2 separate regions of the Homo sapiens genome follow, and region 1 is linked to region 2. The links are contacts of gene promoters, found by promoter capture Hi-C in blood cells and fetal thymus (Javierre and others, 2016). All regions are on one chromosome and are shown on one strand. The core of a region is centred on a gene start or on the middle of the fragment in contact, and the rest is flanking DNA. Distances in the headings are between cores, read along the strand shown. Region 1 overlaps LOC124904012 (a long non-coding RNA gene). Region 2 holds the start of TRAPPC3 (trafficking protein particle complex subunit 3).

Region 1 (3,468 bases), core at 180-2,679, 240 kb after region 2:
CTACTTGAGAGGCTGAGCAGGGGGAATCACTTGAACCTGGGAGGCAGAGGTCGCAGTGAGCCAAGATCGCACCATTGCACTCCAGCTCAGGCAACAAGAGTGAAACCCCATGTCAAAAAAAAAAAAAAAAGGATTATTTTCATTCCACAAGATTGATGGAGTGCCCACTATGTGCAGAGCACTGAGCTAGATGCTGGAGATTCGGCATAACCAGACAACAGCTCTGCCCTTGTGGAGCATCAGAGCACCCAGCACAGGGCAAGTAGTAAAATTCAACAAAGAGTAGCTATTTTTCATTTATTTTATTTTAGAGACGGGGTCTTGCTGTTGCCTAGGCTGGAGTGCAGTGGCACAATCACAGCTCACTGCACCCTCAAACTCCCAGGCTCAAGAGATCCTCCCACCTCAGCCTCCTGAGTAGCTGGGACTTACAGGTGTGTCCCACCATATCCTGCTAATTTTTAAAAAAATTTTTATAGAGACAGGGTCTCACTGTGTTGCCAGGGCTGGTCTTGAACTCCTGGGCTCAAGTGATCCTCCCACCTCAGCCTCCCAAAGTGCTGGGATTATAGGTGTGAACCACTGCACCTGGCCAGTAGCTATTTTTCATGACCATTATGGTGCCCATCTTGGCACTCTGCCTCTAACTTAGCCATGGGACCTGGGGAGAGCCCCTTTCCCTCTCTGAGCCTCAGTTTCCTCAGCTGTAAAATGACAGAGTTGGACTGGGTCAGTAGCAGCAGTTCCCAACTTTCCCACCTTCAAAGCCTTTTTTAGTCTTTTTCCCTCTGCCTCCACACTATCCAGAATCTGGTGGGACAGTAACACTTTGCATTGTTTTTCATCTTTTCCTTGGTGTTCTCCCTCCTTCTCTTACACAGATAAGTTACTCTGTATTCATTACTTCGGGAAACAAATGATACAACAGAATGCAGGGCCTATTTTTAGCTTCTGAATTCCAAAAGCTTAGCTTTCAGGGAGGAATGGACAGAATTTCTGTGCAGACACACATTTAGAAAACTATAACGGGGATCTGGGAGTCTGAGATTGAGGAGGGGGGTCCCTGAGAAGAGAGAAGCTTCTCCTCAGTCTTGTAACTGGGAATATCATCTGGGTCCAAGGGATTGAGAAGCAGAGAGGAGCTGTGCTCCTTTTCCTGGGTGGGGCACCAGGGAAGTCACAAAACCCTCTGGAGAAATGGCTGCATGCTGCATTTTGGACAAACAGGGCCTAACTCACCTAAGACTCAAGAATTTCCTAGGCCTAACATGGCCTGGGGAAAGCAGAAAAACAAAACAAAACAAAACAAAACTCTGCACACCTGAGAGGGGTATGGGTTACACTTGGAGGGGTCTTTTGGTGGGGGGATGGGGAGCAACTCAGCAGCAACCTTCATGGGCTGATGACAAAAGGTCACAACCAGATGAGAACATCTCAGTGGATGCTAGTGTGACTGGATGACCAAATCAGACTATGCTTCCCATGCTTTGGCACCTTGAAAGGAAGAGCCCTAGAATTCCAACAGAATGCCAAGGAAAATGGGGGAACTGTGAATTGACCGCAATTAACTTTCTGCCACTCTGGCTGAGTAGGGCAAAATACAGGAATTCAAGTGAGTTAAAGAAAATTCAAGTTCTGTTTCTTGCACACCAGAAACTGGAACCAGCTACACTCTGTCCACAGGCCTTGTGTCATATGCCCCACCCCCTCCCATTTCTCCACTCTCATCTGCCTCCCTCTCCCCCAATAGCCACAGTGTTACTATTATTGTCCCAAATCCCCAAGCTTTCCCATCCCAGGACCTTTGCACAGGCAGTTTCCTCTGCCTTGTCCTGGCTTTTTAAATGACAGGCTTCTTCTCAGTTTAACTACTTTCCTGCTGGGTGGGGTGGCTCAAGCCCTTAATCCCAGTGACTGGGGCCAAGGCAGGAGGATTGCTTGAGGCCAGAAGTTTGAGACCAGCCTGGACAACATAGTGATACCCTGTCTCTTAGGGAAAAAAAAAAAAGTTACGAAATTAAGACACCACAGGTGTGTGGTGGCATGCACCTGTAGTTCCAGCTACTTGGAAGGCTGAGGCTTGAGCCCAGGAGTTCAAAGCTGCAGTGAGCCATGATCGCACCACTGCTCTCTTGCCTGGGCAACAGAGCAAGACTCCCTGTCTAAAAAAAAAAGATTTCACTTCCTCAGACTACATTTTCCAAAATAAAACTACCTGTTATTGTCTCTCAAAAGGCCCTGTTTATTTCCTTCAGGGCACCTGTAAATATTTTTACTTTTTTAGTTTATCTGTTTCCCTCACTAGAATGTTCACTTCCTGAGGCAAGACCCTTGTTCATCTTGATGTTCCCCAGTTGCTACCACTGTGCCTGGTACATAGCTGGTGCTCAAGAATGACCTGTGGAATGGCTGACCAGTGGCAGTTGGGGAGTTCCTGGCTTCCCACAGGCTGGTGGGCACTGGGCTCTCTCAACCCCTTCCTGGGCCCCTGATAGCCTTTTCCAGCAAGCCAAGACCAGATTACAAAAGACCCACCTTTGGGGTTTAAAGTCTCAGCTGTGCTCTAACCGAGGGGCTTGGCAAAAATGTGTCTCTGCAGGGCCTGGTTCCCCTCATTATCATCTGTCTTCCCAAGACCTTGCCTAGGAATGACAGAGGGCCACTGGGGTCTGGCACATGACACTTAAGGAACATGTCTTGAGCCTGTCTTCTCAGCAACCCACACTAGCCTTACTGCTTCCCTTGCTGCTCTGCTGAGGACGGAGAAGCCCTTGGTGTGCCATCACAGCCTCAGAGCTCGACCTTTCCTGCATCCCTAAGCCGAACCCCCAGCTAAGCCCTCTTCCATTTCTCACACACGGGCACACATGTGGGAGAGGTCTGCAAGGGAAGCTGCTGTGGGACTCCCACCAGTTCCTCATCTCTCTCCCCACTTGCGAGGGTATGGTGACGTTCCCACAGCGAAGGCCTTCCCTCTGCACCTGCCCTCTGGTTTCTCTTTCCAGCAGTCACTTTGTGGTGTCAGTCAGTCCTCTTAACTCCAGTTGTCAGAGGGGCCGGAAAATTCAGAAGTTTTCTCTGCTAGGACCCTCCGTTCTCCCTGAAGGCAAAGGGCAGAGTTAAGGGGATTCTAGACCTGTAGGCAATAAAATAAATACAGTATGCAAAAGAATCACGGTGGATGGGTGGATGTGAATGCAGATTCCTGGGTGCTAGACTCCAATTCAAGCTTGGGTAAGGAGGAGCCAGGTAAGTGCATTTCCTACACACATCCCAGTTGGTCCTGATGAGGTGGTCTGCAGACAACACCTGACACAGACTGAACTCGAATGTGAATGCAGTGCCCTTGGGCTGCTAACGTCCACATGAACATTCCTCTCAAATCTCCCTCAAGAATGGTAGCATCTTAAGGTCAGGGGCCCTGCTTTATTCAAAACTCTCTGCCACAGCAGTTCTCAAGCTGGATTT
Region 2 (3,185 bases), core at 98-2,597:
TTACCTGACATTGTTTCCTAACAAAATATTCTCGTCTTTTGGCCGGGTGTGGTGGCTCACCCCTGTAATCCCAGCACTTTGGGAGCCTGAACAGGCAGATCACTTAAGGCCACGAGTTCGAGACCAGGCTGGCCAACATGGTGAAACCCCGTCTCTACTAAAAATACAAAAATTGGTCAGGCGCAGTGGCTCACGCCTGTAATCCCAGCACTTTGGGAGGCCGAGACAGGCGGATCACCTGAGGTCAGGAGTTCGAGACCAGCCTGGCCAACATGGTGAAACCCCATCTCTACTAAAAATACAAAAATCAGCCAGGCGTGGTGGTGGACACCTGTAATCCCAGCTACTCGGGAGGCTGAGGCAGAAGAACTGCTTGAACCTGGGAGGCAGAGGTTGCAGTGAGCCAAGTTAGTGCCACTGCACTCCACCCCGGGTGACAGAGATTTCGTCTGGGGGCGGGGGGAGGGAGGGAAGAACGAAAGAAAAATGACCTAAGTCTGCAGCCCCAGCCCCTAGTCCAACTTTATAGGACCATATGGTGTCCAAACTATTCCCTGGGAAAGAAGGGAGCCACCCACTCCATTAGAGGGGCACCACTCACTGCTTACTCTGGCCCATCTCTTATTCCATTGAATAAAACGTTCCTTTCTGGCACGACCAGTATCTGAACATCTCTCACAATACCCACGCCACAGTACGAGACACTGTAGCCTAAGAGTAAAGCCTAACAGTCAGCTCCTAGCATTAGCTTTGGAGTTAAACACGGGTCCAAATCCTAACTTCCCAGGTGTAAATATGGGCAAATTACGTAAGCTCTCCAAGCTGTAAAACGGCAATGTTATCCATCTGATAGGGGCTACTCTGCAGATTAACTGAGATGCTGTAACGTGCGTGGCCCGGTGCCCAACACATAGTAAGAGAGAAGTTAAGTGGCAGTTATTGGTATTTATTACCGTCGTTGTTGTTGGCTTAGCACAGAGCTGCACTCAGGCCTTGGGGGCGGGGTCTCCTCCGGGGAACTTCTCCGACGGTCCCCTCACCTGCCTGGAACGCCCCCGGAGTGACCCAGCAAGAGGCTTCCCCTTGCCAGAGCTCACAGGAAGGCCCTTTTCCAAACGCACCTCGCGCTCGGCGCCGGGCCCCTTCCCTGTACGCCTCAATTTCGCCCCGCCCGCCGAGGTCACGCGCTCCAAGTTACCATTTTCTTGCTCTCGGTGCCACGGTTCGCCTGCCTCGACATGGTGCCGGCCGCCCCGCCCCACTCGCCTAGCCACGGGTTAGCTCGGCGACCCCTGCAGACGCCGGAGCCTAAGCCGCTGCCCCTCAGCCCACAAGACCGACCGGCACTGACTCACTGCGCCTGCGCGGCCTCCCGCGGGGCACCACGGGACTAGTGGTCCGGCCGACGTGGGCAACTCCCGCCCAACAAACGTCAGACTACAACACCCAACAGCCCCTTTGGCAGCACCGCCTCTTAACACAGTCAACTACAACTCCCGGAGTGCTCCGCGCGCGCCTGCCTGGTAGAGCCCAGCTTGCGCTGGGCAGCATCCTGGCCGCTGGGTGGCGTCCGCAGCCTTCGGTAATCCTGGGTCACACACACGCTTCCTCCTTGTCCCCCTCCCCCCGCGCCCGGCTCAGAGATGATGCTCCACAAATTCCTCTCTCGCCGGGGTTGGTCTTGGAAAGTCCCTCTTTCGAGCTAGCGTCTTCCGCTGTTGCGATTCAGCTCCAGAAGCTCCCAAGATGTCCCAGAAAACTAGCAATGACTCACACAGAATTGGCTTCTTCATTAGAAAAATATTTAATGACCTACTATGTGCCAAGCATTTCGCTAGTGTCTTTCTCTTCAGACTGCCAAACCCCAAATGATGCCAGCACCTGCCTTCTACCACCTGTGGCCTCGTGATGGAATATCCAGTCTTTTAGGTAAAGTTCAAGTCACTTTCTCCCCCTCCCTCCCCCTAGAACAGCTACACTGCCTGGTTCCCAGAAAACAAAGATCACTAACTGTCGTGGCCGTCAGTTCTGAGTTCTAATCCCAGCTTTGCCATTTTAGGCAAGTTGCTAAATCTCTCTCAGTTGTTGTAAAGACTGGTGAGCCACGCATGCCCAGCACTTGGGCGCATAAAAGGCATAAAAGAAACGTGTATTCCCTTCCAGCCACCCTCCAAAAACAAGCCAACAAACAGGCACCAGAAACACGAAGGGAATGTGCTGGCTGAACTCTCACCCATCACCAAGGGGAAGTCTATAGTCCCTGACCACAGCTCTTTGGTTTCAGCTCCCGCGGTCTCTCAGCTGGTCAACTCTGAGGAAGCTGGGCTGGGGGGTCCCTGAGCACTCTCTGTTCACTTAGGCCTGGTAGCCTGACTGTAGCAGCTGCATTCTGGCCCCTAGCCCTCACCATGACAACCAGCCTGTCCAGACACGAGCCAGCCAGGCTAGGGAGGGCTGGGGGGCCGCTGAGGCTGCAAGCTGGTGCCCAGGGTTCCCCCAGTCCCTCCCTCAGGGTGCAGGACCAATCATTATTATACCCTTTTCCCCAGACATTCTGTTTCCTCCCTAGAGGCAGTGACCCCTCACTCTCCATCCTGTGTAATGCCACAGGGGAGGGAGCCAAGGGCCGAGGGCTCTGGGAAGGAACTTGAGGGTTGGTTGGGGTTGGGGGAGGAAAGCAGGAGTCAACTAGCCCCCAAGGGCCAGCTCAGCTAGACAAGAGCCCTCTGCATTCCCAGGACAGAGGACAGCTGAGGTGAAAGCTGCAGTTGGCCAGCCGGTCTGTCGGTCTGGGCTCCTCCCTGCCGGCTGCCCTTGGCTGCCCACAGAAACCTGAGTCACACTCACAGCCAGCCACCCAACCCCACCCTGCCTGCTGTCAAGCAGGGCGGTTCTAGAGAGAGTGGAGGTGGAGCCTTTCCCTGCCTGTCCAACAGCCTCCGAGATTTTGCCTCTCTCTGCCTGGGATTCCTCCTCTTGGCGTCTCTTTCTCTTTGGGACTTGCAGTGTCATTAGTCCTGAATGAACAGTGGGGGTGGGGGCCATCTCAGGTTGATCTATATGATCCCCTCCTCACTCAGATAGGTTCTTAAAGGCTTCTTAGGCCGAGCACAGTGGCTCATGCCAGTAACCCCAGCACATTGGGAGGCAAAGGCAGGAGGAACACTTTAGCCCAGGAGTTTGAG

What was found. The method cuts DNA at HindIII sites, captures the fragments that hold promoters and counts their contacts. A CHiCAGO score of 5 or more calls a contact.
Region 1: a contact is called between a fragment that was not itself captured here and the fragment with the promoter of TRAPPC3 in region 2, in 15 of 17 cell types (naive B cells, total CD8 T cells, total B cells and 12 more). The highest score is 12.0, in naive B cells.

What each region holds. Positions count from the first base shown.
Region 1 is chr1:36,388,505-36,391,972 of GRCh38, forward strand. LOC124904012 (a long non-coding RNA gene) reads left to right here. Exons shown (of 2, transcript XR_007065779.1): 2 at 1-2,234. Among named protein-coding and RNA genes, the nearest start is that of STK40, 4.3 kb to the left of the region's middle. The HindIII fragment of the contact is 707 bases long and covers 1,077-1,783 here.
Region 2 is chr1:36,148,139-36,151,323 of GRCh38, forward strand. TRAPPC3 (trafficking protein particle complex subunit 3) reads right to left here and starts at 1,348. Exons shown (of 5, transcript NM_014408.5): 1 at 1,199-1,348. The coding sequence starts at 1,240. RefSeq lists enhancers at 1,018-1,678, 1,032-1,111, 1,242-1,901. The HindIII fragment of the contact is 15,390 bases long and covers 1-3,185 here.